Linked DNA regions of Homo sapiens: region 2 is linked to region 1. The links are contacts of gene promoters, found by promoter capture Hi-C in human tissues and cell types (Jung and others, 2019). All regions are on one chromosome and are shown on one strand. Each heading gives the region's core, a stretch centred on a gene start or on the middle of the fragment in contact. The rest is flanking DNA. Distances are from core to core; before and after follow the strand shown. Region 1 holds the start of SIDT1 (SID1 transmembrane family member 1). Region 2 has its middle 6.4 kb from the start of GTPBP8.

Region 1 (6,609 bases), core at 2,203-4,702:
GGCCTATGCCTGTGTTCTACTCTATGACAACACTTCCAGATTGCACAATGCAAAACAGAAGCAGAAAAGAGAGAAAACAGAGATGAAAAGGAATAGCCTGACTCCACCAAAGATGCCAATCAAATGGGAAGTGATAACAAATCCTAGGTACCAAAGTGAGACTAAATAGCCAAAGAACTCAAAATCAAAGAGCAGAGTTCAGAACCAGTGCTGACCCAATGTGTCAATGCAGACTCAACTGTGTGCAGTGAGGCACAAGAAGCCTTGGTGGGTACTGCACCTGGCAGAGAACTGGGATCCATGGTGACATGCAGTGCAGACAGTATCTCTGTGGAAACTTCAAGAAAACTACAGAAACAAGTGAAGCTCACACAAATGAAAACAAACAGAGGCTAATTATTCAGAGCTTGCTCTAGCAAGGGAGTTGACCACCATCACTTCTGCTTAGTAGAGACTCAAAGGCAGGAAGGGGAGTGAGAAAACTTCATAGTTATAAAAGGGGAAGGTTTCAGGTATGCTCTGACTGGATCTTGCTGTTGGAAGCTGGAGGCAGGCTAAGTAGGAGCAGGGCATTTTGTGGTTTGGGAAGCATATTTAACTTTCTCTGATTGATCCTAAGTTGGAAGCAGGGGCAAAAATTGGGGAAATTGACTCATTGAGCAAGACCTAATTCTTTTGGGCCATTTGCTGCAGCAGTTGTAGTTTGATTTCTTGGACTGGTTGCTGCTAAAGTGTTTTTGTTTCCTGAGCTGATTGCTGCAGAAACTGTGGGTCAGAGTTAGTTGTATTGCTATTTATGGTCTGGCCATTGCCCACTTGCATATTTAGTCTCTCACAGTAGAATCCTGACATTGTAGATATTAAAAAAAAAAAACTGCCTTTAAAATCAAAACAATTGAACTCATGGAGAAAGAGAGTAGAAGGATGGTTACCAGAGGCTGGGAAGGGTAGTGGGAGAGCTGGGGGAGGAAGGTGGGGATGGATAATGGATACCAAAAAATGGAATGAATAAGGTGTAGTATTTGATTGCACAACAGGCTATAGTCAATAATAATTTAATTGTAAATTTAAAAATCACTAAAAGAGTATAATTGGGTTGTTTGTAACATTATGGATAAATGCTTGAGGTGATGGATATCTCGTTTTCCATGATGTGATTATTATGCATTGCATGCCTGTATCAAAATATCTCATATACTCCATACATATATACACCTACTAAGTACCCACAAAAATTTAAAATAAAATTCCTTTTAAAAATAAAGAAAAAAACCACCTACCTAATGGACCACATTTTATTTTTTAGCTATTGAACTAGCAGTCACACCATAACAGTATTTGTTCATTCAACACTTTAAACTTTTTAATGTACTTTCAAATACATCATTCTCCCTTTTATCCTTACAACAACCTTGTGATCCTGAGAGGTTAATTACTTGAGGTCACTGAATGACTTTTGGCTAGAATAAGGATTAGATAATATTACAGAGTGACTTGTAATATATAACTCAAATTGTTAGGTATAGATAATCCATACAAATGGCTTTAAAATAAATATTTTGGGTTTCATGCTATGATGAAGGATCTGTTCCATTTGCTTCCAATTTAGTTGCGTAAAGTTGAGATAAAATCTTGAAGGAAGGGTCATAGCACCATTTAAATACCCACAGGTCTGTCATGTGGAAGAAGTATTAGGTTTATTCCTATGACTCCAGAGGGCAGAACTAGTACAAGTGAGTAGAAGACAGGCAGATTTCAACTAAGAATATGAAATGTCTTTCTAATAATGAGACACTTGCCCCCAAAAGAAGGTGTTGACTTGTGAAAGAACCAGTTCCTCATCTCTTATAGTGTTTAAAAAGAACGCCATAATAGAACTCCATAATCCTAGAGACTCCTTTAACTGGTCACACCAGCTAACCTCCAGGACCTTCGTAGATTTCAAGTTTATGAAATGTTGTTGAACTTTGAAAAGAGGCACAGATATTTTGAATACAACAGTTTAAAGTCATTCAAATTCTGGATGAAATTATTTCGTTATGCTCCTCAAAAACAGTGAGTTCTATTTGAAGTTTTACCCCCAGACTCTCCTTTGAATTAGTATTTTTGCCCATATACCCATATATTTTCAAGAAATTTCTTTCTTTCCTTCCTTCCTTCCTTCCTTCCTTTCTTCCTTCCTTCTTCCTTCCTTCCTTTCTTCCTTTTGAGATAGGGTCCTGCTCTGTCATCCAAGCTGGGGTGCAGTGGGGTGTTCACGGCTCATTGCAGCCTCGACCTCCCGGACTCAAGCAGTCCTCCCAACTCAACTCCCAAGTAGCTAGGACGACAGGCATGCACCACCACGCCCAGCTATTTTTGTATTTTTTGTAGAGATGGGGTTTCATCATGTTGCCCAGACTTGTCATGAACACATGGCCTCAAGCTAGCCCACCTCCCACTTCAGCCTCCCAAAGTGCTGGGATTACAGGCATGAGCCACTGCACCTGGCCAAGAACATTCAAAACTTTAAAACTGAAAATTGTCCTAATAAGGAGTCTACTAACTTAATCTTCCATCAGCATTGTTTTCTGATTTCACAGAAAACTTTACAACAAATGTATTGCATTCATTCTTGATGTTTTAAGAAATTAAAGGAATTAGACAAGGTAAAAACAAAAACAAATCTATCTCTTTAAAGATGGCAAGGACTAGGATTTTAATCTGTAATCTTAAATTTTTGAAAAAGATCTTTTCCTTCTTAATGACTTCTTTTTAAATGGTCCTTCAGGTTGAACACAATTACATTCTTTTATAGTATACAGTAATGAAGCTGAAATAAAACAGTGAGTTCTCTTCCACACGTAAATTGTGATTGTTCAATGTTCTGCAAGGTCTTCTGATGGCCCCATTCTCACCCTGCTCCTTACCTGCCTCTTTAACTCTTTAAATCTAATCCCCTAATTTTTATCAGAAAAGTATTTCCTTTTTACGATAGGCTGTGGTTTCTGCCTTTAAAAAAACAATCCTGGGGTTTCTCTCAGAATCTGGAAGAAGTCATTGCAATGGTAAAGTAGGTAAGAGGCTGGGGTGGAAAGAAATGCCTTCTGCATAAATCTAGTTAGTCTGAGTCGTTTTTTGACAACTTCCGGGACCAGACTTCAGGCAGTGCTGGAAATTGTTCTCTTTACCATATCTTTTTTTTTTTAACTGTACATATTTACATACATACACATATGGTGAGGGAGAGAACGTGATGACGTGAGACTCTCCATGGAGAGTAGGAGGTAATAAAGAAATAAAACAGGTGTCTGAGGAGAGGTTCTATTAGAGAGGGGAGAATAGAGAGTAATTATCGTTCAGACAGGCAAGAGTTCTCTGCAGGTAGCAGCCTGGGAAAGCGAACTCGCGCACCCTCTTGGGGGACGGGCTCTTTTGCTTTCTATTTCTTCTCCTGCAGCCAGGGTGCACACGTATTTGAAACAGACCGAATTTCCTCCTCGATGTGGCGTCAGGTTGACTTTTCGAGACTAGCGGGTATTTCTTTTTAATGACTCCAATGCCTTTTTATTATTGCTGTTATTGAGGTTGAGGGAGAAGAGATCGGTCTAAATTCTGGCTGGGTAAGTGGGGGGATTCTCGGCGATGAGAAACGGGGGACTTAGAAGCCGGAGGAAAATCAGCAGCCCCACATCTCCACTTCTCCAGTCCGCCCTACTCTCCACCCGTGACCTCCAGTGGAGACCCCAGGCGGCAGCATCAGTATTTGATCGGCCCTTCGTCAGCACGCTGCCAGCCCTGGCCGGCTGGGTTCGCCAGGCATCACCCGCTCGGCTCTGAAGCGGACGCCTGGCCCTGCACCGGGCTTTGGAAGGACCCTCTCTGCGCTCGCCCCCTCCCCAGGGTGGCTCCGCTTTCGAGCCCGGGCGCGGTGCCCACCATGCGCGGCTGCCTGCGGCTCGCGCTGCTCTGCGCGCTGCCCTGGCTCCTGCTGGCGGCGTCGCCCGGGCACCCGGCGAAATCCCCCAGGCAGCCCCCGGCACCGCGCCGCGACCCCTTCGACGCTGCCAGGGGCGCCGATTTCGATCATGTCTACAGCGGGGTGGTGAACCTCAGCACCGAGAACATCTACTCTTTCAACTACACCAGCCAGCCCGACCAGGTAAGACACTCGCTCCCCTCGCTCGACTCCTAGAACTTGCCAGATCTCAGAGCCCCGTCGCTGCTTTGGAGTCCCCTGGGAATTGACCTTGGGAGACTTCGGGGACCAGGGGACTTTCTTTCCCTTTCTCCTCCGAAGCAATCGCTGCCCTGCCCTAGCTGCCTCAACACGCCTCGGGGACAACTCTGCTTCGCCTCGCGCCTCTCCTGGCCTGGTCAAGGGCATTGCTGGGCTTTGCAGAGGCACCAGTTCCCCGCACCGTCTGCGGGTCCTGGGTCCCTGCTGGGTCTTTCTCCAGGAAAGTCCTGATTTCTAGGGTTGCGGGGTGTGGTGTGGAGTGCGAAGAAGAACCGCACCTCGGTTCCTAATCCCCTGCAGGGAAGAAACCTAATTTCAAGTGGCTGATTCAGCCAGACCCTTCTATTTCATAGCGCATGGGGAGGGAGAACTGCTCAGAATCTAAAATGGAAATTGTGTGAAAATGGACGGAAGCTGCAGAACCTCTGTGCATTCAACAGTCACTTCCTGCGTTTTTGTGCCATTGTCACACGTTGTGCTTCAGAGACGCCAGAAGACCTGGGCAAAGACGTGAGAACTGCAGCCATCAGCTGATCAATCCAGGTTTTGATTTTAAATAAGGATGGATAATTGTGTGAAAGTTCTAGACCTATTTTTGACAAAAGTTGAGGGAAGATAAGGAGGGAAAAATGTTCCAGTGACTATCCCTTTGACATATATACTCCGATTATATAACGTAAGAAGATGCATATAGTTCATTTCTTTCCTCTAGTGTGGTACCTCTGGAGCACTGGGCGGGGAGAGAGAGGGAGACAGAGAGAGAAAGAGAGAAAGAGAGACAGAGACAGAGACAGAGACTCCCCAGTGTACCAACCTCTGGATCTTCTTCCCATATAAATGTGTTTATGTATCCCTTACTATACCAGCATCCCCTACCCTCTAGGGAAATTCCAGAACTAGATGATTGGGATACCATGATATGCCTCCGTCTGATTCTCACTCCAGATCGGAACTAGAAAACCTCATCACTTCCCAAAGTGAGGGTGGTTTGTATTGAGCAGGGGGGACCAATGTGCCTAACACTGCTCCTAGACATCTTCCAGCTGTGTGTAGCCAGAAAGTGCCCTGAGTGCCCCATCTCCAGTGTGGCACCAAATCCTATGGCACTGTTACCATGGCAGCACAGCCCTCACCCTGCTCTGTCCTCCAGTAACCTTCAGGTTATATGTTCTGTAGTGAGCAGAGTGGCTGTATGCAGAGCCATTTCATGGTAGACAAGGGAGAGGCTGCAGTTTTTGTTTCCCAAACGCCATATACCCAGCCTCTTTCTATCTAGCGTGGGAGAACTCATCGACTGGTTGACATGTTGCACGTGAGGTGTGTTCCTAGTCCTGTGATTGGCTGGGAGCAGAAAAAAGTCTGAAAACTCCATGATCTCTGGAGTAAGTCTCAGCTTCCCCCTAAATCATTGGTAAGAAAACTCAAATTACATGTGCTAAGTAAATCCTGACATCAGGCTTTGGTATTTCTTGCAGTTCTGCATAGAGATAGAGCATCTACTTATGAATTGTTGCCTTTACATTTTCCCCTTGTACTGTGTGAGTTTTGCACTTGAGATCACCTGGTTGACTTCCCTAGTAAACCTTGAGATATTGAGGGCAGGGGCAAAGTCATGTTCATCTCTGCCCTCCAGTACCTAGCACAGTGAATGGCACATAAGAGGTTTATAAGCCAGGCATGATGGCTCACACCTGTAATCCCAGCACTCTGGAGGACAAAGTGGGAGGATTGCTTGAGACCAGGAGTTCAAGACCAGCCTGGAAAACATAATGAGACCCTCTCTCTACAAAAAATTAAAAAATTAGCTGGGTGTGATGGCACATGCGCCTGTAGTCCCAGCTACTTAGGAGGCGGAGGCAGGAGGATCACTTGAGCCCAGGAATTTGAGGCTGCAGTGAGCTGAGCTCTTGCCACTGTACTCCCACTGGGGACAGAGTGATACCCTGTTTTTTCAAAATGTTTTTTTTTTTAAAGAAAAGAGAGGCTTATAAAAAACATTTAGTGTTTTCCAAAAATGAACAAATAAGTGAATAAAGGGTTATTAGCTAAGGCTAAATAAAATGAAATGTATACTGTTTTCAATTCAATAGTTTGGAAAATGTGAGATCATTTCAGATAAAAACATAAAAACAAATTTCTTTCATAAAACAAATTTGGTTTTTATAAAAACACATTTTAAAAATTGTTCTATTATGCCCTATTTTGTCTGTGTGTGTTAACATGTCCTTTATTTTATGAAACAGTTTTGAAAATATTTTTGAATGACACAGTAAAAGGTTGATGACCCAAGCAGTCCCTAGAATTTTTGTTAAAATATTACTAGTCTGAGAAATACAAAGTTGGGAACCATGGGAACAGGAGATAACAAGAATTTCAATTATTTTAGTGCC
Region 2 (6,609 bases), core at 2,692-5,191, 550 kb before region 1:
GCTATTTGATTTTTTCGAATCTGCTAACATTTTTGTAACTTTAGTTTTCCACCAAAACTTTTAGTCCTTTGTCTCCTGAAACATAAAAATAATATTTTAAAGTCTCTGTCTGATCATTCCAATATTTGAAGTAATGGTGGGTAAATCTCTATTGGTTCTTTCTGTGATGTTTGGTCTCCTCATGTGCCAGGTATTGTGTTTTCTTTCTCAAATTGCAGAAAAACTGGAAATTATTTGAGGCCCTGCAAAATTTTGTCTTCCTCTGGAGATTTTCATTTGCTTCTGCCAGGAGTCCATAAACAGTAGCAATCAGGAGTCACCTTAATCCAGTTTTAAGGACTAGAATTTTCTGTGCAATCAGATGACTCAAAGGTAGGTTGCAGTCTATGTGCTATGGCTTGAATGTGTCCTCCATATTTCATGTTGGAAATTAATCCTCAAACTTATATGTTGATTGGAGGTACAGCATTCGAAAGGTAAGCAGGATTAGATAAGGTCATCAGGTTGGGACTCCAACGATGGGACTGGTGGCTTTCTAATAAGAGGAAGAGAGACCTGAGCTGACATGCACACTCTTCCTCTCTAACCATGTGATACCCTTAACCATGTTATGATGAGCAAGAAGGCCCTTACCAGATGCCAGCCCCTCAAACTTGGACTCTCCAGCCTCTAGAACTGTGTAGGAGATAAATTTCTTTTATAAATTACCCATTCTGTGGTATTATGTTATAGTAACACAAAACAGCCTAAGACACTATATAAGGGGTGATTTTATCGTCCACTCCATCCTATCCCAAACCACTCTTTCTCATTTCAAGAGGCTACAAAAGGTACTGCTCACCTTTCAACTAGCTCTTCTATATCAATCAGTAAACATCTCAAGGGTAAATGTAGTTCCAATGCCAGTTTCATCAATCTGTATTTCTTTCTTTTTCTGAATCTTGGTGAGGTAATTCTTCATTACCTTGCTAGGTCACTGATCTGCCATCCAGTAGACTTTTAAAATGATTATGTCTAGATTTTCTAGTTGGCTTGAGAGGGAAGATTGATCTAAATTTCTTAGTCTGTATCACCTGATGTAAAAGTCCAATTCCTTGATTCTTTGCTTTTCCTCATCTATCAGCAAGTCTTTTTGGTCTCTACTTTAAAATGTTTCCTGAATTTGACCATTTCACATCATCTCCACTCTACTGGATTAGAAAAAGAAGGATGCAGTTACAGCTTCAAAAGCATGGTTTTTAAAACTAAAATACTGTATCATTTAACTTGCGGGCAGCAGCAAAAAGGTAAACAGATACCAGAAGCCACAGAACACTTGTGTTTCGTGACTGCTTCCATTTTACCACAACTTTCTGAAATGCATTTTATTAAAGTCGTTTTTATTTTGGTCACTTGTAGCATTGATTATGTTGTTGAAACATAAAAGCTCAGATATTCCATACAGGAAATTTAAGAATTTTAAAAGTCTGAAGGCCTATATTAAGACTTTTTTCTTAAAATCATTTATGCTCCATTGACAACTAAGTTATGCTTTTATGACTATTTTCCTACTAGTGATCTTTCTTTCTTATATGCTTTCTTTTTACTTACTAATATACTACCAATAACTTGGAGTGATTTAATGTGATTTCAAAATGTGTGTAGGGGAATTTTCTAAAGAATACTGTTATGATTATCTCACCTTGGGAAAAGAAGAAGTAGGAAATATGAAACTGCTGAAAACGTTTGAATGTTGAATGTTCTGTATTGAGAAAAGGAAGTAGATAAGATCTTTTTTGATTTAATATTTCTATCTTTTACTTGGCTAAATATGATAAAGCAATGAAACCTGTAAGAAGTAGTGCTCTGCTTCCTAGTCAAAGTATCTTTAATTCTGGAAATTTTCAGCAAATTTCCTCCTTTTACTTCATTTTTTTCAAGTACTCCTATAATATTGTTTGGTTTGCTTTTGTTTTGTGTTGTTTTGTTTTTTGAGACAGAGTTTTGCTCTCTCACCCAGGCTGGAGTGCAGTGGTGTAATCTCAGCTCACTGCAATCTCTGCCACTCAGGCTCAAGAAATTCTCATGCCTCAGCCTCCCAAGTAGTTGGGATTGTGGGCGTGCACCACCATACCTGGCTAATTTTTTGCATTTACAGTAGAGAAAGGGGTTTCATCATGTTAGCCAGGCTGGTCTCCTACTCCTGGCCTCAAATCGATCTGCCCACCTCGGCCTCCCAAAGTGCTGGGATTACAGGACCAAGCCACCATGCCCAACTCTTACAATACTGTTATTTAAATTTCTTCTTTTCACCTTCGCAGCTCTTAACTTTTAAATTCTTTATATTTTTTATCCCTTCCTAATATTTATTGAAATATTCTCCAATCTAATTATCCTGCTATTTTGTTCTTTGAGTTGATAATATTATTCAACTATTAAACACATCCATTGAGAAATTTACTTCACAATAATATAATTCATATCTAATATGTTCAACTGGTACTTCTTAGAAGCTTCCTGTTTCATGTTTGCCATATATTCCCTTATCTCTGAGGATATTTTCTGTTTTTATTTAAATTCTTTGCCCACCAAGTCCATTCATTCTGATTACTTCTAGAATGAATTATCTTTTTCTTACTTTTTCTTCTATTGCTTGTGGGTTCATAATGTGAGTTCGTGAGATTATACTATTATGGTAAAATCAGCTATCTTTTAAAAAAAATCAGCTATCTTGGTAAATAACAGATACCTAGAGAGAGGAGTGAAAGGCTAGGTTCTGACTTGCACTAGTCTAGGCAGAAGAGAGATATATCACAGCATTCTGGGCTCAACCACTCGTGCGCCTGCCACCCATGAGATCCTGCCTATTAGGTAACCACCTAGTACCACTACACCAGGCATTATTCCTTTCTAGAGAGTAATCACAAAACATTGTTTGAATCTGATTGTCCAGCCCCTAGAGGAGGATGGGTAAGGAGGTTGGAGGGAATGTTCAAGGACATTGCTGCACTCAACTCCAGCTAAACCTGATGTTCATACCAGTTGAATCACCAATTCATTGCACTCCTCTCCAGAGGCCCCATACTTTATTACAGGTGGCTGAGACAGCAGCTTTGATTATAACCTCCTTCCACAGGAAGAATTCTAGTTTTGCCATGTCCTATTAAAATGACTAGAGAAAGTCTGTCCCACTTTTCTCAAAAATCTCCAGAGAAATCACTTGTATTTAGAGCAGAACCTGGAATACATCTTTCCTACAAGTATACAATCTCACAATAAGTGCAGGTGAGAAACTTCTCATTTTTAAATGTTTTTATCTTTTAATCTATGTGCAGAAAACAGTTCATATAGCAGGCCTGTGGCTGCTACCCTTAGAAAGATTTGTTTACAAGATTGGCACTGGGCTGACATTTGAGAACTTGACTGGTAAACAGTTTCCTTGCATGGCACAGAGCCAACTTTCCATTCATGAGTGGCTCACTGTATCTAAACTATTTGAACAAACAAGTGGTACATACTGATGCTGCTTTCCTTCTGCAAATCTGAACTTTCAGTGACTATAGTCAGTCACACAGGCACTAGATGCCTATATGAACAGCGCTCGGTAAAAACCCTGGACTCCTAGACTCAGGTGAGCTTTGCTAGTAGACAACATTTCACACATGTTGTTAAAACTCATTGCTGGCAGAATTAATTGCATCCTGTGCAACTTAGGGGACAATTAGAAGCTTGTGCCTGGCTTCCTCCAAACTTCACTTTGAGTGCCTTTTCCCCTTGCCAGGCTTGCTTTGTATTCTTTTGTTGTTGTAAATTATAGGCATAAGTACAACTATATGCTGAGTTCTGTGCATCCTTGCTCGCCTCATTTGGGAGCTAGTCTTGGGAACACCTGACACACTCTACCTATGAATAAGTTAAAAATTTGAATATACATCAATATATCTGCCTGTGAATGTTGCCTCATCTCCTCAGGGTGTTAGAGAACATTCCATTCACTTCCAACAAGGCAACAAGATATAAACTAGATGTGTACTACAAAGTAAACTTGCCCACTAAAATAACCTTGCTTAACACACAACAAGAATTAAAATGTTAACGAATTAATCAGTCAGAACAGCAAAATCCATACTATTTTCCAAAAACAATTTTAAAAAAACCCTCTGAGCTTGTTACTGATATAAAAACACAACCTGAATATGGTAAATAGTGTTCCAAATTATTTTAATAGCACTTGTATGACACAGAGCCAAATGCAAAATTACGAATGAAAAAAATTAAGACCACTTAAAGCAATCATTTCTCCCTCTATTGATAAAAACAACCTTGAAAGAAGTGAACCTTTACTCCTCCTCCAGAATCCAAATCACTCTACAAACTCACCTCCTACCTATGATTACTGTCTGATGGTTAATCTCCAGATCTCTTTAGAGAAATCTGTCAGTGCAGTAGGCACAACCTTAAAAGAAAGCTCAAACAACTTCTCTGAAAAAGAAACAACTTCTCTAAATTTAGATATATTCTCTAAAGACACATTAATCAGATATTTAAAAAGCTCAATGCTTTCATGAGCTCCAAAGACTAAAATCATGGAAAATAGGTCTCTATTGGTTCTTGAATTATAGTAAAATAATAAATCTCAAGAATAATAATTTATGCCCTAATTAAGAAATTAAGCCTGGGCGTGGTGGCTCATGCCTGTAATCCCAACATTTTGGGAGGCTAAGGCAGGATGATTTCTTGAGGCTAGGAGTTCAAAACTGACCTCAGCAACATAGTGAGACTCTGTCTCTCCAAAAAAAAAAAGCACACACACACAAAAAAACTTTGTAAAATTAGCCAAGGGTGGTTGAGTGCCTGTCGTCTCAGCTACTTAGGAGGCTGAGGCAGGAAGATCACTTGAGCCCAGGAGGTTGAGACTACAGTGAGCCATGATTGTGCCCATTCCAGCCTGGGCAACAGAGCGAGACCTTGTCTCTAAAAAAAAAAAGAAAGAAATTAGGTGAACAAATCAAACTTGTTGTGCCACAAATTTGTGTCAATGTGTCAGGTAATATCTAAAGTAAAATTTTAAAATGAATGTTGCACAGAAAACTCAAGAAAAATATAATTAATTGTATTTTAAATTTAAATCATTCATTCAGATAGTAGTCATCACAATTTAAGTAATTTATGTGGAAGTTTCTCCCATATCATGCTCCTTCATATAAAGCCTCTTTCATCTTCCTTTCTCCCAATATTTTCTTCCTAATACAAGAGTTTGATATCCTAATTGGAATGTAACCAGGTCTTTCTCATAGTTTATCAGTACTCAGATAAATTCCTGGCATAGCAGACACCCAATAAATGTTCATTATTGTTGTTAAGACAAGCAGAAAAGTCAGGGTAAGAAAGGTCTAGTGGAAATCAGACACTGAGACCTAATCCATTCCCTCTCTCTATTTCTAGAAGTAAGTTTTGCTAGAGTCCCTGCTCTTGCTTCTGTCAGGACATTCAAACCATGTTTAACTTAGGATGGGAGTTATCTGATGTTCCCAGTGCCCCTACCTATCTAGGCCTACAAAGTTTACCTTCTTCATGTCTTAGATGGATTCCATAAGCTTGAAACCTATAGGACCTGGACATAAATTGGGATCACTCTGGACCTAATGGCCATTCACTATAGAGGCAGACATCGCAGTAAGAACAATTGAGAGGATCCTGTCCTACCTATCTTCCTTCTATTCTTAGCTGAGCATGACAGAGTATAACTATGACATTTAGGGCAGATGAATTTTAGCAATAAAAGCTGATTCTGGGGATGATGTATAAAGTAACGCCTGTCAAAGTCATATTAAATTTTTAAAACCTTGTTAACTTTGTGGTAAACTACCTCCTCGTTATCAAAACAGAAGGCACTTTTTCTCAGAAGGTTGGCCATAAATACATCCTAAGTCAAACTGGGAATAAGCCATGTGATTATCTGGGGTAAGCATTCCAGGGAGAAGTACAAGGACACAGAGGCAGGTGTGTGTATATGGCTTGCTTGAAAAACAGCAAGGAAGCCAGTGTGGCTGGAATGGAGTAGAAAAGGGGAAAAATAACAATAGATGAAGTCAGACAAGAGTGGAAGAAGAAAATGAAAGTTCATGTAGGGCTTTTTAGGTTAGTGCAAGAACTTTTTCTATGAGTGAGACAGGAAGCTCTTGGAGGTTTAGCTTATGTTTTAACAGGATCATGGTTGCTGCCACTGAAATGGGAAAAGTACTCTTGTCCCGCTCGAAGGGCATGTGACAAGGAATGGCTCGCTTCTTCAGGGCCCCACTGCTCAAACCTCTAGGGGAGCATACAGACAGGCAGGTTGTGGGGCTCCGACCCCACGGCAGCATCTAGGGGTGGATGTTTACAGCTCCTGAAGCCTCAGTGGGCATCTGCTACCGTGTGCGCTTTTAGTTTTGTCATCTATAGGCAGCTTGTGTTAACCAGCTAATTAGACCGTCTACCTTGTCACAAGGACAAAGAGTTTTCTATATCCTGGGTTCTTGCCTTGGTGTACTGGAAGAATCGGATCACACATGGGCTTGGAGAATGAGTGCATGGTTTTGACTGGAAGTAGCTCACAGCAGATAGGGGAGCCAGAAGGGAGATGGTTTT

What was found. The method cuts DNA at HindIII sites, captures the fragments that hold promoters and counts their contacts. A contact is called where the count stands out against the background at its distance.
Region 2: a contact is called between a fragment that was not itself captured here and the fragment with the promoter of SIDT1 in region 1, in 1 of the 25 tissues and cell types used here (mesenchymal stem cells).

The regions. Positions count from the first base shown.
Region 1 is chr3:113,529,103-113,535,711 of GRCh38, forward strand. It overlaps SIDT1 (SID1 transmembrane family member 1), which reads left to right and starts at 3,453. Exons shown (of 25, transcript NM_017699.3): 1 at 3,453-4,141. The coding sequence starts at 3,920. RefSeq lists enhancers at 2,845-3,064, 3,085-3,274, 3,415-3,744, 4,215-4,344 and a silencer at 4,015-4,064. The HindIII fragment of the contact is 8,425 bases long and covers 1-6,609 here.
Region 2 is chr3:112,981,234-112,987,842 of GRCh38, forward strand. No RefSeq gene overlaps it. Among named protein-coding and RNA genes, the nearest start is that of GTPBP8, 6.4 kb to the right of the region's middle. The HindIII fragment of the contact is 5,746 bases long and covers 1,069-6,609 here.